Linked DNA regions of Homo sapiens: regions 1, 2 and 4 are each linked to region 3. Evidence: promoter capture Hi-C in 16 types of primary human blood cells and fetal thymus (Javierre and others, 2016). All regions are on one chromosome and are shown on one strand. The core of a region is centred on a gene start or on the middle of the fragment in contact, and the rest is flanking DNA. Distances in the headings are between cores, read along the strand shown.

The links. Contacts are between HindIII fragments. The CHiCAGO score rates a contact against its expected background, and 5 or more counts as called.
Region 1: a fragment that was not itself captured here is called in contact with the fragment with the promoter of TBC1D23 in region 3 in 1 of 17 cell types (non-activated CD4 T cells); the score reaches 5.3 in non-activated CD4 T cells.
Region 2: a fragment that was not itself captured here is called in contact with the fragment with the promoter of TBC1D23 in region 3 in 1 of 17 cell types (non-activated CD4 T cells); the score reaches 9.6 in non-activated CD4 T cells.
Region 4: a fragment that was not itself captured here is called in contact with the fragment with the promoter of TBC1D23 in region 3 in 1 of 17 cell types (non-activated CD4 T cells); the score reaches 6.3 in non-activated CD4 T cells.

Annotation. Positions count from the first base shown.
Region 1 is chr3:97,816,783-97,823,602 of GRCh38, forward strand. It overlaps LOC101929298 (a long non-coding RNA gene), which reads right to left and starts at 4,994. Exons shown (of 3, transcript XR_427389.3): 1 at 4,905-4,994; 2 at 1,622-1,721. CRYBG3 (crystallin beta-gamma domain containing 3) reads left to right here and starts at 5,229. Exons shown (of 22, transcript NM_153605.4): 1 at 5,229-5,573. The coding sequence starts at 5,425. RefSeq lists a silencer at 5,006-5,375. The HindIII fragment of the contact is 2,291 bases long and covers 2,316-4,606 here.
Region 2 is chr3:97,758,503-97,764,870 of GRCh38, forward strand. EPHA6 (EPH receptor A6) reads left to right here. Exons shown (of 18, transcript NM_001080448.3): 18 at 1-3,030. ARL6 (ARF like GTPase 6) reads left to right here and starts at 6,256. Exons shown (of 8, transcript NM_001278293.3): 1 at 6,256-6,368. RefSeq lists enhancers at 5,587-6,088, 5,724-6,263, 6,089-6,368, 6,304-6,368. The HindIII fragment of the contact is 1,619 bases long and covers 879-2,497 here.
Region 3 is chr3:100,259,188-100,265,511 of GRCh38, forward strand. It overlaps TBC1D23 (TBC1 domain family member 23), which reads left to right and starts at 1,805. Exons shown (of 19, transcript NM_001199198.3): 1 at 1,805-1,884. The coding sequence starts at 1,832. RefSeq lists enhancers at 1,209-1,877, 1,613-2,102, 1,878-2,546, 3,884-4,552. The HindIII fragment of the contact is 5,201 bases long and covers 1-3,123 here.
Region 4 is chr3:97,966,236-97,973,086 of GRCh38, forward strand. RIOX2 (ribosomal oxygenase 2) reads right to left here and starts at 6,196. Exons shown (of 10, transcript NM_153182.4): 1 at 6,146-6,196; 2 at 927-1,397. The coding sequence starts at 1,358. It overlaps LOC124909398 (a long non-coding RNA gene), which reads left to right and starts at 6,418. Exons shown (of 2, transcript XR_007095976.1): 1 at 6,418-6,851. RefSeq lists an enhancer at 5,411-5,670 and a silencer at 5,941-6,380. The HindIII fragment of the contact is 1,259 bases long and covers 4,128-5,386 here.

The DNA.
Region 1 (6,820 bases), core at 2,211-4,710, 2.4 Mb before region 3:
CATCATTTCATCACTCCAAATTGTAATCAAAGTGAATAGATTTCTATTTTATTCTATGCAAAGAAAATTCATGTACAGGAAATTACGTTAATCTCAATTTTAGATTAGGTAAAGTTCCCATGTGAAAACTGGTTCATTTTATATGACAGCATGTAGCATTTCCAGCTGCTTTCTCTCCCTAATCAAAACATTTGCTCACAAAAGCAGCTGCCACTATGCCTTGTTTTTAAACCATTTGCAAGAAATCAAACTGAGAACAAAGTACCCATAGTAAGAAAGCTCTAGCTTCTGGGACATGTATACTATAAAACGTCACAATAAGATAAAAAGGAAACCAGTTCACAGCCACTTTTTCTGTTTTGTTTGTTTTGCTCCAAAGCTTTGTTTCATAAAGCCCTAAGAAACAAAACTTACAACTAACAGTAATATAATGCAGTCTAGAAATTTATAAATAATCATTCTTTATGGAATACTTTTAAAATTGTATATCAGAAGTGCATATTACAGTGCAGAGTTTATGAAGTCAGATGAAATATTTTGGGAAAACAATATAGAGGATGAATTTCTCATCTAATAGTAAATTATTATTCTGAGCCATTATCTACGTCATGCTTATGAAGCTCCATTAATAAAACTTAATATCTTACATATGACCTTATATTTTAGATAGCATTTGACTTAGATAAAAGACACATCACACTGAATTGGTGTGAACAACTATTTTGGAACACATGTTATAATCAGTGTTTGTCAAAGACATGCTACCCCTATTTATACATTTTTAAAAGTACGTTTCAATATTAGCAAATTTTGTGCTGTTTGAAAGCTATATATTTAATTTTTAATGTTAATGTTATATTTTTGTAAAGGACTAATTTCTCTTTGAAGTATCATCATATCAAAGGGAGAAAAGTGTAAATGTAGTTTAGGTCAGACTAACACATTTTACTTAATTTAAGCATTAAAAGATGTGTGTTCGAAAGATCTCAATCTCCACATGTTCCGCAAACAAAAACCAGACAAACAATACAATAAAACATCATGCATCTCATAGAAGTTGGAATAACCAATTACTTAAAAATTTTACCATCTGTTCTCATTGAAGCAGCAAGACAGGCATTTCCCCATGTTACAAACCATGATAATTAGAAAGTAACAATGAGAAATGCTAACATCATTTTTCCCCTTTTTTATTTGCTGTGGGAGTTCTTAATGAAAATTTGAGCATATAAACAAAGGAAAAGAGAAGATATTCCCCCCACCCCACCTCCTAATTGAGTGCTTATATTCAGTAATAGCTTTTTGCTGCCCTGGGCCGCATGACACTGCCTCATTTGGCCACGCACAGCTATTATTCTAGGAGGCAGCTAGTGAAGTGCCCCAATCCATCTGCTTGCTTTTTCATGGGCTGGTGCTTTCCTTGATGTTGACAGCTGTCTTAATATTCCTGGGCCACCTGCCACACAGTAAATACTGTGCTCTAAGATATATACAGAAGCTTATTCCCTGGTGGACTTTTCAGAACAAAAACGCTTAGCATTACTAAACTACTCTTGCAGTTTAAATGCTTCAAGGATCAACACTTTCATTCTATTCTCATACCTTTGAGAATGGTACTTACGTTGTGGGAATGGCAATTCAGTTACAGTGTGATGAACTTCAGGATTTCTCATATATCACACAAGTTATTGAATTACAGTATTATAGGTGGAAATCAGGTGCTAAAAGGAGGCAGAGAAGAAGAGAGCATATTAACAGTTATCTCCTCTAGTGAGCCTTCCAGGAACCCTTCAGATTAAGTTGGGGATCCGTCCTATGTTTCCCATCTTACCCCATTTGCTCATCTTGCCCAATTAAACTTGCTCCTTGATGTTAAGCATTTGGTCTTATCTATCACCGTATCTCTATGTCTAAGAATGAGCATGTATCTGACACATAGTATGCACTAGAGGACATATCCAGGTTTTGTGGGATCTGAAGTTTTTACAATTTGGAGGGTCCTCTTTAAAGAAAAAGGATTTAAAAGAAAATTAGATATAAAAATGAATATATTGAATGAAAACATAAACCATGCAAATTACTAATTTTAAAAGGTTGACTAGAAAAACAATTTGTTTTCTTACTAAATGCCTTGCACAATCACTTTTTTTCCTATATTTTTGGCAGTGTACTCTTCAATAGCCTTTCATATGACAATAATTTAGTAATATTATTTTCCATAATAATGAAAAGATAATGCAATCTTTCCTCTAGTTCTGTTTTTCTTATTGATAGAAAGGCTGTGTAAACATGCAGTACTACACACACACACACAAAGCTTGTGGTACTGCTACAGGTTTGTACCCTACAAACAAGAATTCTGATAAATTCTATTTTACATGGTTTACATCAACAAGAAAAAATGTTTTGTGTTTACAGTTATAAAAATTATTTTGGGTGGCTGAGACGGGTGGATTACCTGAGGTCAGGAGTTCGAGACCAGCCTGACCAATATGGTCAAACCCCGTCTCTACTGAAAATACAAAAATTAGCTGGGCATGGTGGTGGGCGCCTGTAGTCCCAGCCACTCTGGAGGCTGAGACAGGAGAATTGCTTGAACCCAGGAGGCGGAGGTTTCAGTGAGTTGAAATTGCACCACTGCACCCCAGCCAAGGTGACAGCGCCAGACTCTGTCTCAAAAAAAAAATTAAATATACTGCATTATTGAATATATTATTGCTATGAGAGAAATTACATCAATCGGAGGCAATCCTTCCTGTTGAAACTTTGTCTTCTGATGCCTGGAATAATTTTCCACATGACACCTGATGCTGCTTTACCTTTCAAATCTTGTCTCACCTCTATTACCCACATATTTTCAGTGTCAGAGACCACAGAATATATCTCCTCTGGCTCTGCATCTTGGGTGTAATACTTGGTGAGCTGCGCTACAAACAAATTGGAATTTAAGAAATAACTATACTTTGGAGAGGCTGGAAACCACATAAATATATTCCACTAAGTCCAAACTAAATATATTCCCAACTGAAATTCCCTAGCAGATTCCCAAATGCTCTTGATAACTCTAAGTGGAAAAGAAAATCTAAGTGGACATCTAAGTGGAAAAAAAAAGAGATTGTGGTCTTAATCACATTAAAACATTTACTTTTGTAAATTTGATAAAACTGGCCATGGATCCCATTGCTGAGTTCACACTGGAAGAGACTGTGCCAGCAGGGAGCCAAGAAACTTGAGCCTCATCGGCTTCACTGTAGATGTGCTTCTACTGCAGGCACTCACTAAACGTCGGGGAATAACTGGATCAGTGAATTAATGACACTGTGCTAAATTAGTATCTCTAAGATCCTTACAGCTCTAAAATTTGACATTTTTACAGGCTTCCTAATGCAATCTTAGAATTTAGTATTTAGAAATTTGTTCATATGAGTTCAGGTTATAACAATGTAGGACATATAGAAAACTAATAAGTGCTCAGAAAGCAAATGAAGGAAAATTCAATGGTCATTGTTTTATGACTTTAAGCTATTTTGTCATAGACGCAATTTGTCTTAGTGTAAACATGGCATTATTTGTATTTACCATTCACTTAAGTGCTTTGCTGTGCTACCGAGTGGAGATCAGAGTATTGTTAGATATATTATTAGTTAAAACCATAATTCATTAATTAAATCCTATTGACTCCCCCCCATTTTTATTCCAAGAAAAACTTCCTGAACGAAGTACCCTCTGGGTAGGCACTGGGGCCTGGTTTGATCACAGAACAAGTCAGGGACAAATGTGATAGTCATTCAATAATACGTTGGGAAGACAAATTATCATTTGGGCCTTTTAGCTGGAAGAAACAGTTTGCTTTATTACTCTCTTTGGGCTTTTTGGTAAGTGGGTCTTCAGTGGAGATTCTCTTATAAAATAATAAAGCTAGAATTGGGAACTTGTCTTATTCTAGTCTATTATCTTAGTCTTTTTCTATTTTCTCAGACTAGGCTCACAGAGAAATAGGAAAAATTTACCAAAGAGTAAAAAAGGATTAATCTTGAGGGATAGACTGAGATGAACCCGATTGATGGAAATCGGGCTGACTGAACTTTAATGGGTTAAATCCTGCCAGAACAAATGAGAATGAGTGTCTTGGCTCTATTGCAGTTAGTAGGAGCTGGAGGGCTTCTGGGAGGCAGCGTGGGGAGGCAGGGAGGCTCAATAGCCTCCAGCAGGTGCTGAAAGGACTTGGGGCTTATAGGTATGCAATCTACTTATGAGCAACCTTCTCCTCCAGCACCCGAAAGCCAGAGGGGAGATTACTCCAAGGCTCCCCTCTGCTGTGGACATTTCATTTTTATCTCATTTACTTGTATACATTTTTTAATGAACAAAAGCCATATCACTTCCTTGACGTCTACTCCAGGGGCAGCTTGCCTTCAAACAAAAACAAAACACTTGGGGTGAATGGGCCTCTCAGTATCTCCTGTACTAGCTGCTATAGGGTATGAAAAACCAAGAAAAATCCATACCACTGTACTTAGACTTAAAACAAGTCTTAAGCACCCTTTGGTTCCCAGATTTCAGTGGCATCTGTGTAACGACTGCAAAATATGTTGCAGCATTGACAAGCTTGAAATCATACTTTTTGATCAGTGCCGTTTTTGAAAGAGTTCGCAGGGAAGTATGGCGTGTGAAAAGTCTGAAGCACAGCGCGGTTAGGAAAAGTCACACCACAGAAAGCCAGCAGAACGCGCCGGGAGGTGGTGACCGCCTGACAGGTACCCCCTTCTCCCTCCCGCCGCCCGGTTCTGTGCTAACGCGACTTTCGCCCTCAGGGTTGGAGCTGTATTTGCGGTAGCTGTTTCTTAGCTCCCAGCAAGTCCGGGGCGCCCCGGTACTGCAGTTTGCCAAGTGTTTTCACAAACCTTAGTTCATAAACCTCTTTCAAAAGCCCGAAGAAAACCGTTTCTGTGCTCTGACTGTAGAATAGAAAACACAACGGTCACAGAAAGTAATTGAAGGCAAAGCCCAACAGGCTGCAGCCTGAACTTGTTTGAGCCGTAAGCCCGAGCCTAGCGTCGCACGCTGGGCGACTCCCCTCAGGCTCTCAGGCCGGCGCCTTCGGGGGACCACGTAGCGCCCCAGCGGTGGCGGCTGCGCCCGGCTCAGGGCGGTGCCGCGGCCACTGGCTCCTCCTCGGGGTGGGGCGGGCCGCGCCGGGCGAGGGCGGGAGGAGGAGCAGCCGCAGCGGCGTGAGGAGCTGCCGCGCGAGGAGCGCGTCGCGTCCGCACTTCTCCTGCCCGAGAGAGACTGAGCCGCGCTGGCAGCTCGCGTCGAGTCGGTCTGCCCTAGCCGCATCCCGCGGCGCCCGGTCGGGCTCCGGGCACCAGGCAACACCTAGGCCGTTCCCTTCAGACAGCCCCGGGCCAGCGGCCCCCTCGGGAAATGTCCAGCGGCCGCAGAAGGGGCAGCGCCCCCTGGCACAGCTTCTCCCGGTTCTTCGCTCCCCGAAGTCCTTCCCGGGACAAGGAAGAGGAAGAGGAGGAGAGGCCGGGGACGAGCCCGCCTCCAGCTCCAGGCCGGTCCGCTGCCAGGTGGGAGTCGAGGAGGGGGTCGCGGGGGGGCCCTGCACATATTCGCGGGATGAAGGCTCCCGGCCTGACCGCCGGCAGCGGGCCGCTCTTGGGCCAGGCTGCAGTTCGCTCGCCACTTTCTGTTCTCCTTCCTCCATTGCTAAAGTTTCCTCCTCCTTGCCCCGTTCCCGTGCCGCACTACTCGCCTCTCCTCTGCAGGTTAAATCGGGGTGAAGTTCTTGCCCGGCAGCCGGACGCATATCCCCCGATCCCCGCCTGGCTCCGCGCTCTTCCTTTCCCACTTTCCCCTGCCCGGACGTGATTGGGTTCCCGTTCCACACACGCTCTACTCTCCAAGTTCTGTGGCAAAAGCGATTTCCCCGGCGTCCCGCCTGCAGTAATGGGAAACACTTGTGAGCCGAGCGGAGCCGTCGGCCAGGGGAATTGGGGGCGCGATCCCAGCACCACTTGTGTGGGAGGAGATCGGGGCAAAAGTGGAAAAGGTAAAGCTTTGGGGCGTCACCCCCTCAGCTGGTATTTTTGCCATCTTATTTAAATTTTCTCAAAATGATTTTTAAAAGGAATTGTGATAATGCGTTCCCAAGACTTTCACCAAAATGGACTGGACATGTAAATGACGCCACCCTTCTTTATTTCTCATCTCTCCTAGAAACATCTGCCTCAAGTTCCCAAACAGATTCTGGAAATCAGGTTTCCAGCTGTCTTGGTTTCAGTAATCAAAATGTACCCTTTCTCTGTAATATTTTTATCTTTCCTTCACTTTCCCATGTTCAAAAATCAAAAAATTTTAGACATGCCTCATTTAAATGCCTGTTTCTGAGTCTTTTCATCCCCCCGAAGAAAGAGGGGTTAAGTAAAACGCAGCTCGCTTTCTTAAACTTATGAGAGGCTTACACTGTCTTCTCCCGAGATTGCACTAGAATGACCATTGTCATTGGAAGGACACACTCCAGAAAACCGTGTTTACTTCGGACTCAAGATTTCCTGGTGGGCTTAAAAAAAATGGATAGGAAACAGAACTGAGAGTGAGCCAATTCCATTAGTATTCAGATTTTGTGATGTGATTTTAGTCGTTTGTGTGTTCCTCGGTTTCCCCGCTTGTGAAACATTTTCATTATGACCGTCTGTTAATAACATGCCACATGTTTCCAAGAAAGCTCCTACGATAATTGAGTGGTTATTCTCCTGGGACGTTTCAGCTATTATTGCTCTGACTGTTGAGAGTTTAAAATTCAAAGTTACACAGA
Region 2 (6,368 bases), core at 438-2,937, 2.5 Mb before region 3:
TGAACACTACCATGTACCATTGTCCTGTTCGAAGCACTGAGGATACATGGTGACCAAGACAAGCAAAGTCCCTGTCTCATGGAATTGACCTTCTAGTGATAAAGACACACAATGAAGAAATAGTGATGTGCTGTGCTTATAATTAAAAATGTTACATAGCATGACTGTGGCTCCTTTAAGCGGTAGAGGAAATCTTCCCCCAAGGACATGCCATTTAAACTGATATCTGAAAAGCATGAAGGAAGCATCCATGAGAAGATATGGGGGAAGAGCATTACAAGCAGAGGGAAAATTTAATGAATGAAATTACAAGCAGAGGGGGATAGTTAATGAATGAAAATTTGGAGTGTTGGAGAGTAGAGAACAGTGTTCTTGGTACACTGAAATGAGGCAAAAAGAGGAGAAGGTATACGCATGAGGCTACTGGAGTAATTCCAGCAAAAACGTGGTGGATTCACTACTTCAAGATTTGGAAGGCATCAGTATATATATGCTATTTAAAGTTTGGAAATCACCTAGGAAAAGCCTGTGGAGGTAGGCCTAGGATTGCACTATATGCTATTCCAATGTTTAATAGGCAGATAATTAGAATTAAACAGAAGAAATGGAGTATAAAGTAAGCTAGAGAAAAAGGAAATGCAGTTGCTCATCTGGATTAAATGCTTTTAAGAAGTCAAGATTAGAACAAAGACATGTCCATGGGAATTAGCAACATGGAAGTTGTTGTTGTTGATGACCTTCACAAGGTCATCAACTATGAAAATAGTGGAGTCAACTATCAACTATGAAATAGTGGAGTCAAATCCCAACTGACATGGATTAAGGCGAGATGTAAAGGAAGGAGGTGAAATCACTATCTATAAACAACTCTCTCAAAAAGCTTTGATGTAAAGGGAGCAAGAGAAATAGGATAATAGCTGGAGAAAGGAAGTCAAGGAATTGTCTTGTTTTTTAAGGATGCTACAGCATATTTATCTACTAATGAAAATGACTTGGCAGACAGGGGAAAACTGATTATGCAAGAGAGATGATAATTGTAACAAAGGCCTTGAGAGATAGAGGGGTTGCGATTTAAAGCATAAGTAGGGAGGTTAATTTTTGATAGGTGCCGGAATATAGAACTCCAATGAAAGGAAGGCAGAATGTGTAATGTGCAAATAGGTTGGTATATTTGTGGTAGAAAGGGAAGGATGTCACTACGTAAGTTTTTTTTTAATTTTACCAAGAATGAGATAAAAGCCAATATGCAGGATGGGAAGGACGTATAGGTTGGAAGAGACATATGTAAGTAGTTGGATAGTAGGAAAGTGAATATATATTTGATGAAATATTTTAAAGGCATCTTTACTAAATATTTTTGAGACATCTTATTGGAAGACCCGAAACTTTGAATTCTGTGGTTTCCAAGGACTCTGGTAAGAGTCCTTTCCATAATGTAGAGATTGAGAACTTCTCAATGCCATAAATACTGTTTTCCTTATTTTCATCTATTACAGATTAAAAGGCAGAAACATTTTGTAGCTAATCTGTTATAATGCAAAGCCTATCAAACTTAAAATTAGCTTAATCCTGAAAGATGTATATTGCATAATCAACCTGTCACTTTTTTCAAACACGATTTGGGAGGGTATTGAGGTCCCATGTAAATTTTAAAATAAAAGACAAACAGGAACTAATCTTTTAGTAAAAATTATTTTGTTTTCATATAGGAAAACAATGCCTTCTGTCATTTACGGAAAACACATGGGCAATATGGTTGGTTGTTCATTGTGCCCCTCTATCCTATAGGAAGAATGTGATCTTTTAATTGTGCTTGGTGCTTTGTTTCTGGAGATATATATATATATATTATATATATGTATATATACCATATGTATATATACATATGTATGTGTGTATGTGTGTATATATATCTCTCTAGGTTGTATGTAATTCAATATGTTGGAATTTAAAGATGCATTATTATTTGGATTTGATGTGAAATTAGATTGTGAATAATGGAGATTGCTCTCCATTTTTTGCTGTTCTAGCATAGCCAAAAATATAAAGATATAGATGTACATATACATATGTATTTGATTAAACACTTTAAATTTTAAATGGCCGCATCAAATTTTAAATGGTAGATGATATCAACAATTGCAGTGCACTCAAAATGTTATAAAATCTTTGTAGCACAAATCCTGAAGTATATGCAAACTAAATAGCATATTTATATAAAATACCTAGATAACATGTCTAGGTTGAGATATTTAATCCCTCATAGAGCTATATTTGACTAATAAAAAACGACAGCTAAAAATAATTTCCCTCCCTATAAGTACAAATATGATTTTTAAAGCATCATTGTAACTTGTCATGAAGCTATTTATTATTAATTAAGGATTTAACTCTGTACCCATCTGCTCTTACAAAAGGGGAAAAAGATTTATCTATGAGAATAGGGAAGTATAGCACTGTTTTATGTTTTTCTCTTTAGTATTCTGTCACCATTTAAAGCTTCAATATATGCCTTCCACTCAGGTTCCTGACACAGCCTACATTCTCTTTTCTGGTTATAATCACAATATGGTAGAGCTATAAACAAGGTAAAAAGGTGTTAACAATTGAACTGCAATCCTACCTATTATCTACTTTACTATAGCAGTGAAGTAGTCCAGACTTATTTGAAGGTGGTACTATTTTTATCTTACAAAAATCTACTATAATATTAATAACTTTCCATGTAAATTTTCATGTGCTGGCATGCTTACAAGTTAATAGTGTTATAGAATGCTCAGCTCTCAATATGAGGGGTTGTTTGTGGTGAATTGCATAACATATGTCATCTATTTGCTGAAAGAATATGCTGTTTAGCAAACTACCTGCTGAGCAACATAATAAGATTTTTGTACAAGGTACAAATTACTAATTATTGTATTTTATTTTTCTATGATTTCCTAAGAGGCATTATCAGGGTCTTACAGATGGAGTAAGCCTGTTTATTAAAATATCTATTGGCAAATAAAAGTTACAGCTTTGGTGGTTGAATTTGTGACTTTTTTGTATTGTTGTATTTATGCAGATCTAATGCAATTTATTTTTTGGTCTAATAAATCTAGATGCTGTTTAGATAATTTAGTAATTCTGGATGCAAAATCATAGTTGTAAATTTTTTAAATAATGTCATTAGGTTTAGACATAAATTCACAGAAATCACTATAAAAAACTAGTAAATATTTTTGTAGCGATTTTATATTGGAAAATATTTTGTGAGATTCAAGTAAATTAAAGTGTTCATTGCAGAGGCAGTACTGCACAGAAATTGCAGATGAAAAAAGGGTACACATAACATCAACTGTTGAAACACAGCTTTAGACCAAAGTTTACACCAAAAAGTTGCAGTAAGTTATAAATCAGGGATTATCTATATTCTTTTAAAAGTTGCTGGTGAGAAAATAACGCTAAAGTATCCTGAATTAATCAGAACAGTGCTGTGTTCATTATATCTGACTCTTTTCTTTTTTATAATTTTCTTACTACAGTTCTAAAAGCCAGTATGAAATTAAAACTGGTGAGAAGGTACCTAAAATTATCTTCTGTTATGGTTAAGTGGCTTTAAGAAAATCACGTAGCATTTTTAAAGCTTGTTATTGTCATAATAAAAAAGAGTCAAACTAACTTCTTAAATCAAGCGAAACAATTGTATCTCAGCCTCTGAATGTACTCGTGAGAGGAGTTTCAGTTGACAAAGCACCAAAACAGCAGAATCAACCATATGAAATATTTATATGTATTTATTTTTAATAGAGATGGGGTCTCCAACTTCTGGCCTCCGGAGATCCTCCTGCCTTACTTAGCCTCCCAAAGTGGTGGGATTACAGTGTGAGCCAGTGTGCCCAGCCTTTATGTTTTTTGTTTTGTTTTGTTTTTGAGTGCAGGGTCTCACCCTTTTGCCCAGGCCAGAGTGCAATGGCACAATCTCAGCTCACCGCAACCTCTGCCTCCCCGGTTCAAGCGATTCTCCTGCCTCAGCCGCTTGAGTAGCTGGGATTCCAGGAACGTGCCACCACACCCGGCTAATTTTTGTATCTTTAGTGGAGATGGGGTTTCACCATGTTGGCCAGGCTGGTCTTGAATTCCTGACCTGGTGATCCACCTGCTTCAGCCTCCCAAAGTGCTGGGATTACAGGCGTGAGACACCGGGCCTGGCAGCCTTTATGTTTTTTTAAGTTTAATATTTTCAAGGCTAACATTTTTTTCTAGATTATTTTACTGCTTTATTTCATAACATTTATCTCTAGTAATAAGCCATCTATCAACTATACTTATCTAAGATAACGATTTGACTAGCTACATTTTTGTAGAAGAATTATCTATCTGCCTTGTTTTCCTGAAAAGTTGGATGCTCAATATGTCCATTTTATTTCCAGTTTTCACCAAATGTTTTATATTAAGCCAAAAGAGATGAACTCAACCTAGAGGCAGAAAATATCAACTTTTAGCAGGAAAAATTGAGTCTGTCCATGAAAGTTTTCTGAAATATAACATTTCTGCCGATCGCTAAGAAAAAAAAATGTTATATTTTGGCCGCAAGCACATTAGCTTCCATCTCTTACAAGTAAGTCACAACACCCAGGCACACAGAAAAGTGTTCAACACCTCCCTGTCAATGCATTCACGATTAGAAGTTCAGAAGTTAAAGAACCACCATAGTTACGGTTTGGGTCAATTTTGTTTACACAATAAAAAGCTCAAGACAAAAGAAGACAGGACATTATTTATTGAACAATAAATATGTGCCAAACATCTGTATTTCTGTTATCTTTAATACTCAGAACTACCAGATAAGATAAATACTATATTTTTGAAGGTGAGGATAGAAGCACGGAGAAGGGTAAATTGGGCTAAGACCACACAGTAAGAAAGAATGTATTTCCATACTCCATTTTTACAAGGACATTTATATGTTGATATGCATCCATAGGGTCTTTGTTTTGTTTTTGTCTTTCAACAAGAATCACTAATCCAGAGCCGCTTTTGTTTTTTCGCTGTAAAAATGACAATTACATTTGGAAATTTGGAGAAGTGACAAAAGATAAATCACCCCATAATCACACGCTTACAACCGTCCCCCCTACCATATTACTTTGAAATAATTCCTTCTAGTCTCTTTTTGCACCCTCCTAGTCCATTTAATAGGCCAAATGAATTGACAGGCCAAAGAACAGGCAGTGCAGTAAACATACACTAGCTAGTTGAAAAGGGTCGCGCGGTGGGGGGCAGGGGGTCGGAAATCCTACACCCATGCAAACAAAAAAAATGAAGAGATACAAACCCCTATTTGAAGAATGAGGCCATTCGCTGGGGGTGAGGTTAGTGGAGTTGGGCAGATTGAAAGGCTAGATCTTTAAAATGACTGCATCTGTAATGTGTCCGTTGGAAAACGCAGTAATAAAAGATGTGGGGAAGGGTATGCCTAAATATTTTCTATTTGAAGACCATTTGTGACTATGACTATAAAATCCAAGTGCAATTTAAGAAGGTGGTCAACTTTAAGTATTGACTATTAATACCTTTCCTGACCACCTGCCGATTTGATTCTGGAGACTGTAATCTACTCACAGGAGATTATGCCTGGTAGAAATCTCTTCGGGAGACCACACAACTAAGAAGCAGGGGTACAGGCATACTTTATTAGCCGAATAACACCTTTTGACTTTTTACACCAGTTCTCCCCTCTACCTTCCTGTATTAACAGTTTTACCTCTACAGGGACTCAGGGTGGGAGGCCTATCAGAACCCAGAGAAGAGTCGGTGCGATGGGCAACTGGGGAACTCCGGCGCACATCTTGCCCCAGGGGGGACAGTATCGTCTTGCAGTCGTTGCCACAACGCTACGCTGGTGCCCGGTAACGACACTCTCCGCGCCACACCCAGCGCCAGCCTCTTGGATCCCCAGGAAGACCAGGGCCGAGCGACAAACACGCAGCACACGCGAACGCCAAACGCTTCCCAGAAAGCTGTGCGCGAGCCTACAACTCCCATGATGCTACGCCGGGAACTGCCCGGCTCCTCGCAGGAAATAGGCAGCTCACCCTGCCACCTGTGCACACATTTTTCTTCAATGTATAGTTCCTCGGCGCGCCTCTGACCTTTTCCCGGAGCTCTTCAATCCCAGAAGCTATAGCACAACGGCTGAATCGCCAGGACCCCCGGGGAGGCGTGGCTTCAGGACCGGAAGAAGCTCCTGTTGCCAAGGGAACGGTGCCTGCCAAGGCGCCTGCTCAGCGACTGATGCACAGACTGCTGCAGAGGCTGCCGGTTTTCCCAACTTCTAGAGACGGCTTTGCTCATTACCAGGCATCCTTCCCATGTAGGCATCGAGA
Region 3 (6,324 bases), core at 555-3,054:
CAAGATGGCAACACCAGAGCATGAAATCAAGCACAGAGTTCTTCTAAGCATGTGGTCTCATGCTATTGCATAGACTACATGCCCATGAAGCTGGCTCTGGCTCCATTAAAGAACATAGAAGTCAGAACTTTCCACTTTATTTTGACAGAATAAAGAACTGTTTAAAAATGTCAAGTGACATATTTTTAATGGGAAAATATTTTACCAGAGACTATAAAGCAGTTGCTGATTTAATTATACTCAAAATGAATCATAATTGAGGACTAGAATCTTCTTAACCAGTGAGCAACTGCTTCTCATGTCAATGACTGAATAGGTTTTAAAACCATTTTCTGAAAAGTTTCTGAAAATCTACTGGCAACAATTGAAGGGACCCAGGGGAGGTCCTGAATATTAGAATGGTAATGTGACCTAGATTCACGTCTTTTATTCTTTTTGATAGAGGGCATCTACAGTCTCATTCTATGTTAAAAGAAATGTTCCCTAACAGAGAACTGAACATTACAGAGATCCGGGCCTTGGAAGTGGGTGCAGTACCATGCAGATCTGTATTATTTCCCTTTAGGGAAGAGAGTGAACATGTTTTTGGTTGTAAATGAGATAGCTGTACTGTTTTGTATCTATTTAAAACAAATAGTTTTTGAAACTATGAAACATTTTAGATACCTAAGTATAGACTCTATAAAGAACACTGGCCACCTATGTGGCCACCTTGGGGCCCTTAATAAATATTTAAAAATTCATGGAAACTCCTCCCTTTCCCTGAATGTAACTGCCATTCCGAGTTTTCTATATATCATTCTCCTGCATTTTAAACTCATATGGATCTATTTTAAATATATTGTCTTTTAAACACCAACTATAAATGATACCATACTTTACCTATCCGTCTGCAATCTGTTTTGCTCATTTAACAGCGTATTTTTCAGATGTATCCATATTGTTACATGCAGTTCTACTTCATCACTGTTGTTTTCAGGGCTTGCAAAAGCGTTTCTTTAGGTCCATCCTCCTGAGCGTGTGCTCACCCCAAGGCCCCGGCGGTGGCCAAGTGTCCGCCCATGCGGTGTAAAGGGGAAGTGGAACGCGTAGAGAAGGATTTTGGCAGCTCTGCTTGCCTGGAATTCCAGTCCTAGAATTCTAAATTCGGACTTGATCTTCCAGACTGTTAGGAAGATATATTTAAGGTAGGAGGCTAGAACGTATCTCCTTTAGTATATAGCTTCATTTACAACTTTTAAATATTCAGTCAAAAAGTATGTGGGCCTTCATTTACACTTTTGACGGGGCCTCACAAATAGGGGTGGTCTGCCCCTTTCCTTACGTCCCACTCTTTCTTCAAATTAAATTGCTACAGCAGGAAATTACTGAACTGTGGCTCTTCTCCTACGTCCGCCTTCCCTATGTCAATTCCCATTTCCCTTGCTTTCTCCAATAGTTAGGACTGTAAATTCTAACTTTGTTAATTTCGACGCCAAGCTGGAATGAAGACGCTAAGTGGACGCTAAAAAGACACGCTGTTTGTCACACAAGGCCTCCAACTGGGACGGCGTCCACCGCGCCCCGCCCCGCCCGCGGCACCGTGGCATCTTGGGACATGTAGTCTTTGGAGGGGCAGCTGCCTCCACCAAGTCTCCTCCCCCAAGACGCTGCCTTTCGGCCTCGGGACGCCGTGACGTTGCGTTCCTCCAGTCCCTTGCCACCTCCCTCTTTCTTCCCCTCTGGGGAAGCTCAGTGCTGGACTTCCGAAGACCTTTTACGACATTGAGTCTCGGAGTTGGTCTCAGCGCCGGATCCACTTTTCGGCAAAGTGACGTGGACGTCAACAGCAATGGCGGAAGGAGAAGATGTGCCGCCGCTGCCAACGTCGAGCGGCGACGGCTGGTGAGTGAAAGCCGGGGCTAATTTCCAATGCCCCTTTATTCTTCCTTCTCACCATCTTGCCGGTCCCCGAGGAGCCGTCTGGCGTCGGCATGGAACGGAGAGGCCGGTCCTAGGCGAAGTCCGGTGCCCTGCCCTACCCCTCTGCCAGCTGGGTGCCCCCTGCCTGCCTGGTTCTGCCCAAGGGACTGGGGCGGGACTCCCAAGGAGAGGGGTGTCATCCAGGTGCTGGGCCTCAGAACGGTCCTCCTGTGTCGTCTGTCAGTCTCCAAAGTGTGCTGGAGTGGGTGGCTTCAGGGCTGGGTTTGGCCGGAGTCCTGGCTGTGGGAGTTGGAGTAGGCTGAAGAAGGAAGTTTGTTGGATGCAGATCTGAGTCACTAAAATACAATGTGAAGAAAAGACGTTTTGAAATGACCACTGCGACCTTCGCCTGAGGGTTCAGAGGTTGACCCGAGGAGAATCCCTCCCACTTAGTTGGTATACTTTTTTTTATTCTGGCTGTTATCTCGTTTTGCATTCCAACAGTTTTCATCGTTCGTCTCCTTCACGCAAGTCATCTTTTCCCCTACTACCACATTTCTCACAGCTCGATTTCTGAGCTTTGGATGCAGTGTGGGACTTTGCTCTTACTGCACCCAAGCTGTTGCATGCTTACCTGATTTATACTCGGGATTGTGGGGGAAGACCGCCAATAATTTTTTGGTAAACTGCTCACCCAGTGTTAATCTTTGGGAAAGGCTTCTACTTTTGAAATAGTTGATCTCACGATACACTGTTAGGTTGTACAACATCATTTTTTAAAAAGGGACCTTTAGAGGCTTGTCTAAATTTTACAGTTGATCTAAGTGTATTGACCACATGTATTAGTTTTGGATTTGCTTGTTCGTTATATTGTATGTGTACAGCTCATGGGCACTTTAAAAATAATACAGGACATTGATAGACATCGACTTTAATCCCAGAGGAAAAAAATGGAAATCGTTGAAAGGGATAGATAATTAGTAATTAAGAAATTCAGCTCTCCATTAGCAGACATCAAACATTACCGTAGCGCTGGGCTCTCCAAGGTGTCAGAGGAAAACTTCATGGTGATCTAGATATAGTTTTTTTTTCTTCAACTTGCTTATGTTGGAGTTGGGAAGGTGTAACAAGGTAAAATTAATCTTATTCTTTGTGAGTGTGATTCAAAGTGTTACGAGAGGTTGGCGGTGGGGGCTGGGGCAGTTGGAGTCACTGGGGGAAAGCTTCATGAAAGCAGCAGTGTTTCAACTAGGCTTTGAAGAATAAGTAGGATTTAAGCCCCAGGGCTGTCTAATAGAAGCCACATATTGTAATTTAAAATTATGTAGTAGCAGCATTTAAAACTGAAAAGAAGGCTGGGCGCGGTGGCTCACGCCTGTAATCCCAGCACTTTGGGAGGCCGAGGCGGGCGGATCACTTGAAGTCAGGAGTTCCAGACCAGCCTGACCAACATGGTGAAACCCCGTCTCTACTAAGAATATAAAAATTAGCCGGGCGTGGTGGCGCGTGCCTGTAATCTCAGCTGCTTGGGAGGCTGAGGCAGGAGAATCGCTTGAACCCGGGAGGCAGAGGTTGCAGTGAGCCGAGATCGAGCCACTACTGTCCAGCCCGGCGGCAGTGTGAGGCTCGGTCTCAAAAAAAAAAAAAAAAAAAAAACACTAAAAAGAAACAGGTGAAATCAGTTTTAATAATCTATTTAACATATTTCAACATGTAATCATTGTTTAAAAAATTAGATAATTGTACATCTTTTTTGTGCCAAGTCTTCAAAATCCAATGTGCATTTTACAGCTACCTTATATTTCAATTTGGTCTAGCCACATTTCAGATATTAAATATCCACACATGGCTTGGAGCTAACATATTAGTGCAGAATCAGATTAAGAGATGGGAAAGGCCTCTGAATGGAGTAACTTTCATGCGCGTCCGTGTGAAGAGACCACCAAACAGACTTTGTGTGAGCAATAAAGCTTTTAATCACCTGGGTGCAGGCGGGCTGAGTCCGAAAAGAGAGTCAGCGAAGGGAGATAAGGGCGGGGCCGTTTTATAGGATTTGGGTAGATAAAGGAAAATTACAGTCGAAGGGGAGTTGTTCTCTGGCGGGCAGAGTGGGTGTCCCAAGGTGCTCAGTGGGGGAGCTTTTTGAGCCAGGATGAGCCAGGAAAAGGACTTTCACAAGGTAATGTCATCAGTTAAGGCAAGGACCGGCCATTTACACTTCTTTTCTGGTAGAATGTCATCAGTTAAGGCGGGGCAGGGCATATTCACTTCTTTTGTGATTCTTCAGTTACTTCAGGCCATCTGGGCGTATACGTGCAAGTCACAGGGGATGCGATGGCTTGGCTTGGGCTCAGAGGCCTGACAGTAACAGCATAAGCAAGGGCATAGACAAGACAACTAATTTGTTTTGAGAGTAAGAATGAGAACTACCTGGTTGGAGAGAAGTTGCAGAAAAATACGTCTTTTTGCTTCTGGTATCCTGCAAGAATGGCAAGAGAAAAAAGAAAAATAGATCTGGAAAAATAGTAAAAAAGTTTTTAACTAATTAAATGCACCTTTTAAGAATCAGTGACAGACATTACAACACTTTTCAGAAAGTGACCTAGCTGGTTATAGCCTGAAGTTTGCTGTTTTGGAACGGTGAATTGTGTCATAAACTGGCGGTAACCAGCTCATAGAGTGCCATGAGGGGAAATGTTTCCACAGTTAAGGTGCCTCTGGGGAGTTCTTAGGTTAGAGGGATTGTGAGAATCTCTGGTTCACATGGGCAGAGGACATGGAGTGAATGTTTACTAGAGACAGCATTTTTTCTCTTGTAGGATTGATGTATCTTTGGTGTGTCTTTGTATTTTTGCTGGTTTCATTTTCATGAATGGAGGAACCCTAACATGGTCGGTGATTTCTGTTTTCCCTCCATCCTCTTCTAATCTTTCTCCTTTTTATCCTGGCACTCTCATCAGCCCCCCAGAAGAGGATTTGAATAGGAAGACTTTGGGATTGGGAGCCAGAGGTTCAGTAAAGGCTCTGTTCTTAGAGTGCTTGGTGAATGGGTTATAGAATGGGGATGCTTTACTCTTGTTTTGTTTTGTTTTGTTGAAGAAACGAGGTCTCGCCATGTTGCCCAGGCTGGCCTCATACTCCTGAGTAGCTGGGGACTACAGGTGTGCCCCATCCATCCGGGTGTTCTACTCTGTCTTTCTCTCCCCTCCCCCTCCCTCCCTCTCTTTCTTTATCTCTCTTTCTTTTTGGAGTAAATGTTTTTATTTTAACTCTGTCAGATGGAATTTTTTCTAAAATGTATCATATATCTTACTGCCTAGCTCAAACTCATCTTAATGACTTGAGTCATTCAGTTTACAAATGTAAGTGTAATTTAAGGATAGAACTAGGTCTCTGTCCTCAGGGAATTTATGTTCTAGATACAGGAGGCATGTTTGAGAACATCGATTACTTTTGTGTTATTGTAATGTGGTGAGACTTTTAGGGCCTATCTAGACAAATTGTTGCTATGTTAAGTGACACAGCTATCCCTTTTTGAGATTGCTTTTTATAAGTTTTTCCTATTTTCTTTTTTTGTTGTCAGTGGTATCTCAATTTGTTCCTAGTCTGTGAAACTAAGCCATTGAACTTGTTGAAATTGTATATACATTCTTAAAAAGGCTCAGGATGGACCTTGAAGATCTTAAAAGTATGTGGACTCTATGACATTGTTTTTGCTGATTTTCAGTTATGTTCTAGTTCACTGCTTCTCAAAATTTAAACGTACATTGGAATTATCTGGGGAGCTTGTTAAAATGCTCTCCAGGTAACTGTGATTGTGATTCAATATATTTTGAGGTGGAACTTGAGAGTCTCTGTTTCTGACTAGCTGCTGGGGGTTGCCAATTCTGGTGGTTTATGGACCACACTTAAGTTAGCAGGGTTCTAGGTTATATATATATCAGAATGAGTAGGTCAGAGGAATTTGTATATGTCACATTGTATCACCTTACATGTTATACTAAAATATGTGTAATTACATGACTTATCATTGTTCTTTAGATAATGAACTTCTCAAGGGCAGTGGCTGATAAAAGGCAGGTGTCTCAGTAAATGTTTATTGAATGAATGTACGCATGAATGAAAACTTTCCTGTAATTATGTGCAATAGCATACTAAGCTGTCATTTCATATAAATTTCCTGACTCCAGTGTTTTTGTGAGCTGTGGAATTGTCTGTTGGTATAATGCTTATTCTTTATGGAAAGCCAAAGTAATCAGAAAATGCCTCAGCTTTCAAGCTCCCTGGGATTCAGCCATGTAAGCTCAAAGGGTGTGGTGAAATTCTTGTAAAAATGCTTATAGTTAGTTTTAAGTGATTTGAATTTAATTTTAAAAAATTAATATAAGTTATGAGAATCTGGATTTGTAAAATTAAACATGT
Region 4 (6,851 bases), core at 3,507-6,006, 2.3 Mb before region 3:
CCATCAATAAAGCCAGAATCCATTCCTCTCAACATGGAACCTCACAAACCCCTCTCTTTCTCCTCCTATGTTGCCATTTTGATTTAATGAAGGGTCACAGAAGGGGGTTTCTGAATGGGGATAAAAGTTTATCTAAAATTCAGAACAGCCCCTCACCTATTCTGGGCCATCTGTCATGAGATGAGATACAGATCTCAAACCTTGAGGAAAACAAATTAGTTCATACTAAATCTGCATTTTATAAATGTAGAAACCAAGCATAGAGGAGGCAAATTATTTCCCAAATGTCAATCCCTGATATAGAAAAAAATTTAAAAATTTGCCAATCCTCTGCATTTGCAAAGCAAAGATTTCCTCCACCTATGAAGCCTTACCAGGAGCAGTTCCAGGTACCTCAATGTCACCCATTCGGGTGTTATTAAGGGTGAAGTCTCTTTATTGGACTTGCATCTAGCATGTGATCTGGTCATGGCTCTGAAGCCTCCATTTAGATGCAGGCAGTAAAGGGAAGCAACTTCGGGAAAAAATGATCACCTTGATGCTGTCATGCCTTAAATTACAGTGATGTGACAAACCAAATAGAAATGTCTATCATATAGAAAAACATAAACTGGCTCACAGAACATACTCCTGCAGTTGTAGTGCCACTTTAACAACTTTATAAACTTGCAGTATAATTAGTTTTGCAGCTCAATGATACCCAACAATGTCTACCCTGAGTTGCTGGAGTTTCTAACAGTCCAACCAAACATAACACATAATCTTAATCCTAGTTAGAATGCATTTAGACCAAAGAGGTGCTACCCCTTCTCAAACTGGCAAGAGACTAACCATCATCAAACTACGTATTCACCCTTGAGCTGATATGTGGCCAAATGTTAGTACTTTAAAATGTATGAGGATTCTGCAATGGGGAAACTGGTTACCTTAAATCTCTGAGGTTGGTGAAACTGAATCGTTGCCCTTTTCTGATCAAAATCTTTTCTCAGCTGAAGAAAGTGTGCTTTGCCATCTTTATTTAAAACCTTCTTCTTCCCATTGACACACCGGCAGACATTCACATCTCTTCCATAGTACATCCCCCGGCTGCACAGACTCTTCAGATCTGTTAGCTTGAACAGGGACCCATAGTATGTGGCCAGTGCAGGGTCATCTCTCTGAATGAGAAGGGGCTTCTGCTCCCAGAATTCCTTGAAAAAAGTCTCTGTCTTGATGGGCGAGATTAAACTTTCAAAGAGACTACTGGGACTGTCAAAGTTTAAAGCTGAAGGCCCCCCAGCTGCTTCTAACTTCATCTGCTTACAGGGAGCCGGCCCCTCTTCCTTCCCACTCCCTGTAGGCTTTGCTTTCTTTGGCATCGTTCTGTCTTCAAGACAAAGCAGTAAGGAAATGCAAACCTACCAAAAGAACAAAACACACATGGTTAGGTTTACAAGGAGTGCCAGCATTGGTGTTAGTGGATCGCGCGCACACACAACTGAATGACCATTACACCTTCGTGAGAACTCTTCATAGGTCAAAGCTACTTCCCCCAGGATAGGAGACAGCCTTAAGCCAATGCCATTTCTTCTAAGATATGATTCAAGCTCAACCACCACTCAGATGACATATTCATCTAAAGAAGAACGTGTTTTTCTTTTACACAAGCACTATGTCATGGTATTATTTATTAGGCAGTATAATTATCCCAAATAAACCTATTCAACTGTCTCAGCAGTTCCTACTCACAGGTTTAGCCTGTGGCCACTGACACAGCAAAGTCAAATATCTTGGATTTGGCTCCCATCAGCATCAGGGCCCACATCTAATTAGATGTACTCTGAGTTACAAACATTTGACTAGAGAAAAACTAACAGCCGCCCACTGCCAGGTGCTCCTCACCGCAGCACCACCCCAACTGTTGCGCAGGTCAATCAATGCGCCCTGGACCCGCGGTGTCTCCTGGTGGCTGGAGCAGGCCACTGCCTTCTCCTGTCTCCACTAACCACCTGAACCTGCTCACTTCCAACTCTGAGCTTATTCCTGAAAACGGCCACTTTTATCAGAAACTCCCCTTCGTTTAAAGAAATAAAGCCCCTAAAGGCTGAAAAGTGAAGGCTAAAAGTAGTTATATCTAAAGCCTTGAAAAAACTATAACTTTTTAACTGAAGATTTTAAATAATACCAATATCATTAGCCCCTAACACAGCACTTCTCCAACTTTAATGTGCACACAGATCACCTTAGCATCTCAATAAAATGCAGGATATGATCCACTAGCTCCAAGGTGAAGCCTGAGGTTCTGCATTTCTAACAGGCTCCCAGGTGATGCTTCTGCTGCTGACACTGCTGAGTAGTCGAAGCCACACAGCCAAGCCTTGCAAAGCTCCTTCAGAACTGCCTCCAAACCACAACTATTGATACTTAGAGGGTAGGTTTCCCTCATCTGTTTCCAAGAACTGTAATTCAAATTATTTAAATTTCCTGAGACTGCAAAATTCTATCTTAAAGTCCTTTCCCTCTGGGAAGGGACTCCATCACTTTCAACAGATTCTTAAGGAAGTCCCTATCTCCTGACAAGGTTAAGAACCACTGTACTTATAAAAACCAAAATTTCTGAAAGACTTGTTATTTATAAATGGTATAGTTTCCTACTTTGGTGAGTTATCAGAATTGCAAGAATACTGTTTTCTGTTCTTTTGTCATTATAACTAAGCAGTATTTCAGCTACACTGTAGACTAAGTGGAATTAATGTTCTGGCCTGGGAAGTAAGCATCCTGGAACGATGTGTTGCATACTGTGTGACGTGTTGCAACTTATAAAAGAAACTTTAGATTGAAACCCAGATGTAAACTGAACAAATTAAGAAAGGAAATGTCAAAATATAAAACCCTCTAAACAGCTCCATTCCTTCAAAAGACCAGGTGCTTTTGATAAGGAAACACAGGACATGGTGGAAGACTAACACAAACTGATACTACAGGAGAGGGGTAAAGCTTGAAGCTTAGAAAAAAAAAATAAACTTTAGTGTTTAGGATATGTGGTCAGTAAGACACATTTTCTGAAAATGTTTCCTTTAAGTGAAACAGACCAGCTTGAATTCTCCAGGAAAGAATTAAGGCTTCAGGAAGGCACAGCATTGCTAGTACATGGAACTCTCAAGTGATGGAGAAATACAAAGAGATAGAAAAATGGATTCGGGAAGGGGTACTGCTTATGCAGAAGACGTTCCATAGCAGGCCTGACTGCTATCCTTTGAAAGTGCAGCTTGTGGCCGATGTCTGAGAACTTAAGATTTTGGGAGAGTTTCCACCACCATTAACTGATAGGAGTGGCTCACCATGCCTAAAATGTACAATCATTACAGTTTATACCAACACCTGCTTTCCTCTGGGAGTCTGGAAACGTTGGTATGTGCCAGGCAGGGGTGGCCTAAGTGAAAAGCCCCCAGTAAAAGCCCTGGGCACTGAGTCTCTAACAAGCTTCGCAGGTTGGCAACATTTCACAAGTGTTGACACAACTAGTTGCTGGAGCAACTGAGCACAGCCAGTGTGACCGCTCGAAGACCCTTGGAGCCTTGCACTTGGTATCCCCAGAACTTCACCCATGTGCCTCTTCCCTTTGCTGACTGTGCTTGATATCTTTTCCCTGTAATAAATCAGCCGAGTCCTCCTAGCAAATTGCTGAACTAAAGATGGCCTTGGGGACCACAGCACATTGCTCACGTTTAATTTTTAAAAACTTAGATTGGTTTATTAGGTTTGTATTACTAAAGGCACCCTATAGAGTCATTTTATATTCAGCCACACATCTCTTATCTCTCACAATTGGTCAGTTTAAAATTCATTTAAGGGGAGAGAGCAGGAGGAAGATGCAAACGAAAAGCTTTTCTTTAAGCATAATATATGAATACAGTATAAGCACATTCACCAGAAAGTGTGGCTAATCAAAGAATGCAAAACACTTAAGCCAAAATAAAATCACTTAAAAGAATCTTTCCCATCTACAATCACTAACAAACCCCAATACTGTATAACAAATGCTTTCCTTAGAATATAAATTTCACTACCCATACTGCCAAAAGTTACATCATTTGTTTCTCTGTGTTCATGTTGAAATGATTTGAGGCTCAGTTAATTGGAGCCTAAGCTTAGAGGTTTCTGGGCAAATACATTATTTCTCTGATTCTCACACTACTCATACTGTAAGACAACCATTCCTCTTAACAGCTTTCTAGAGCAGAGGGGAGAATAGATGAAGCATCCTACCACATTAAACATACAAAAGTCTTAAGGTACATATCATAATTTCGGAAACAGCAAGAAGTAAAACACATATCTTAGAATCCAATACTATAGTAATTAAAGAAGACAATGCTTTGTCTAGAATAGTACAGCCAACACAACCTTGCCCATAAGCCTTAGAGACCACCCCAATAGGAGTAAATATTTCTGTAAAATCACAGAAAAGTTTTTGAAGAGCAATTGTTTTCCATTTGAGTTGACTATAAGCATTAAATGTAAAAAGACTAAAAGATTTACAGTTCATACTTTGGTGACTACCCCACAGATAAACCCTATAAGAAAATCAATGTTGACAACCATACTATAGGCAACAGACAGACAGTCACTATATTTTAAAGGTACCCTAACCTCCTTTTCTATAATATTTGAGGACATGAAGACGTGAGGAAGCTCTTGAAGGAAAGGATTTGTATATCCCCGGAAACAAGCACGGTGTGGTACATAGGAGGTCCTCAAGAAATGTCTGCTGAATTTTTCACATTTTCATCTTTTGTCTGTATACAATTTTGGAGACAAACCACAAAGGCCTTACACAAAACAGTTACGGAAAAAACAGATGGCCTGTGCAGAGGGGATTATTTTTCTGATTGCAGCTGTCACTTCAGGATTCAAGAGTATCGTAAAAGCTAAAAGGCACTTTAGACATCAGTAGTTATTACTAAATCGGGGAGGGAAGTATGAATTTCTACATCCCCTGGGCAGTTTTACAGAATGTAGTTCAGAGTTACCAGCAAGGTTGTTAGCATGCAAATTTCTGGGCCCTCATCAAGCCCACTGGATTGCCACTTCTGATGGCTGAGGCCCATAATCTGCATTAACGTAATACGCTCTCTAGATGAATTTTAGGTCCACTAATGGAGGACAACAGTCAAACGCAGCTCAGTTAAACACACGGCTGTCAGAAATTATATATTGCTTGTAACAAGGTTGCCCAGACTGATCTAAAACATTTCTTTTTGGCTCAGAGATATGTTAATCAATCCAGAGGGAAAACTGGTTCTCCTATTGACCTAAAGGAGTGATCAGCAGTTATCTTTTTAGTCTGATTTTAGAGAGGAAACGGACTATACCTCAATGTATTTTCGTGACCATGAGGTTACAAAGCTTGATGTCCAGGAGGCAAAAACCAGTACCAGCAGAAGAAGCTGAGTAAATCAGGTTCCTCTGCTCAAAGATGAGCCCAGTGACATGAAACCCGAGGCACCAGATTTACAGCTAATGAGTGGCGAAATCAGATCCTCTTCCTCCCAGTCTATCCTTCCTGAAAACAGTGAATAACCTGGTCTCAGTAACCTGTTGGACAACCCAGCTGTCGGCCAATCGTTGCGGAATTATTTGCTGGTAAATGAATTGGAAGCATATGATGTAATGCAGCTGCCCTTCTCCCCACACACCTGAACTTCAGATTTCACAGCTGTAGAGCGTGTCTCTTAGGCCCGACATGACGCCCGGCGGCGCAGCCCACGTGGAAGCCGTGCTCGCACAGGCAGTTCTGCCACCACCGGGCGGAGGCCGGCACCACCCTCCTTGCTAAGCCTCCAAACTTTCCGTGCGCTCGTCACCGGTGTCGCGACCATTAGCAGGCCACGTGTGCGACTCTCTGTAACCAAGGCTTCCGCGACCCTACCCCTAGATCCGGGCCCCACCCACCCTGCCCCAGTCTCCGGGGAGGTGGGACGCCTGGGAGCGCGTCCCAGGTCCCGCAACCACAGCGCCGGCCACCGAGGCTTCTCGCCGACCGACAGGTCTCCCAGACCCGCACCCGAGCCCGGGTGCCTAAAGCAGCAGCGCGCGCCCCGCGGGATCGGGCACTACCCGGCCTGCCCCGGCGCTGGGATGCCCACGAGAGCGCCCCACTCACCCGGCACGGCCTGTTGCTCGCGGCCGCGAGCCCACTGCGTTGCGGCGCAGCGGCTGGAGGCGGGGCAGCGTGGGCACGCTCCGGGCCGTGCTCCAGCCCCCGCCCCGCCCCGCCACGCCGGCCCGCAAGTGGTGGCAGCCCGGAGGCCTGGCTACCCGGCGGTGTTCCGCGTTCACGCCCGGGCGTTTCTTTAGTCCATATGGAAGGAAATAAATGGCCTTTTTTTTCCTCTTTTTTTTTTTTTTTTTTTTTTTTTTTTTTTTTTTATGGTATGTGAGACAAGGTCTCACTCTCGCCCAGGCTGGAGTGCAGTGGTAGCGATCTTGGCTCACTGCAACCTTTACCTCCCGGGCTCAAGCGATCCTCCTGCCTCGGCCTCCCAAAGTGCTGGATTATAGGTGTGAGCCACCCACCCGGCTCTCCTTTTTTTTCTTTTAACTTGGGGCGGCAGGAGAGGATTTGAGAGAGCGTTTTGGTGCAACTCCGTTCCTTTTATGAATAGAGAAGCAGGCCTGAAGAGGAATACCAGCGGTGCAAGTTTAGGGAGTTGGTGGTCCGGGTTCTCCCATGGCTTTCTTATGGGCTGTGTGGCTACACAATGCTGATTTGTACAAGCCGAGTGTCATTTATATCATCTCGCTCCGGGAGAGAGAGTCAATCCTAGTTTTAAAAGATACTGGAAATTCGTTGCGACTATGGCTATAGA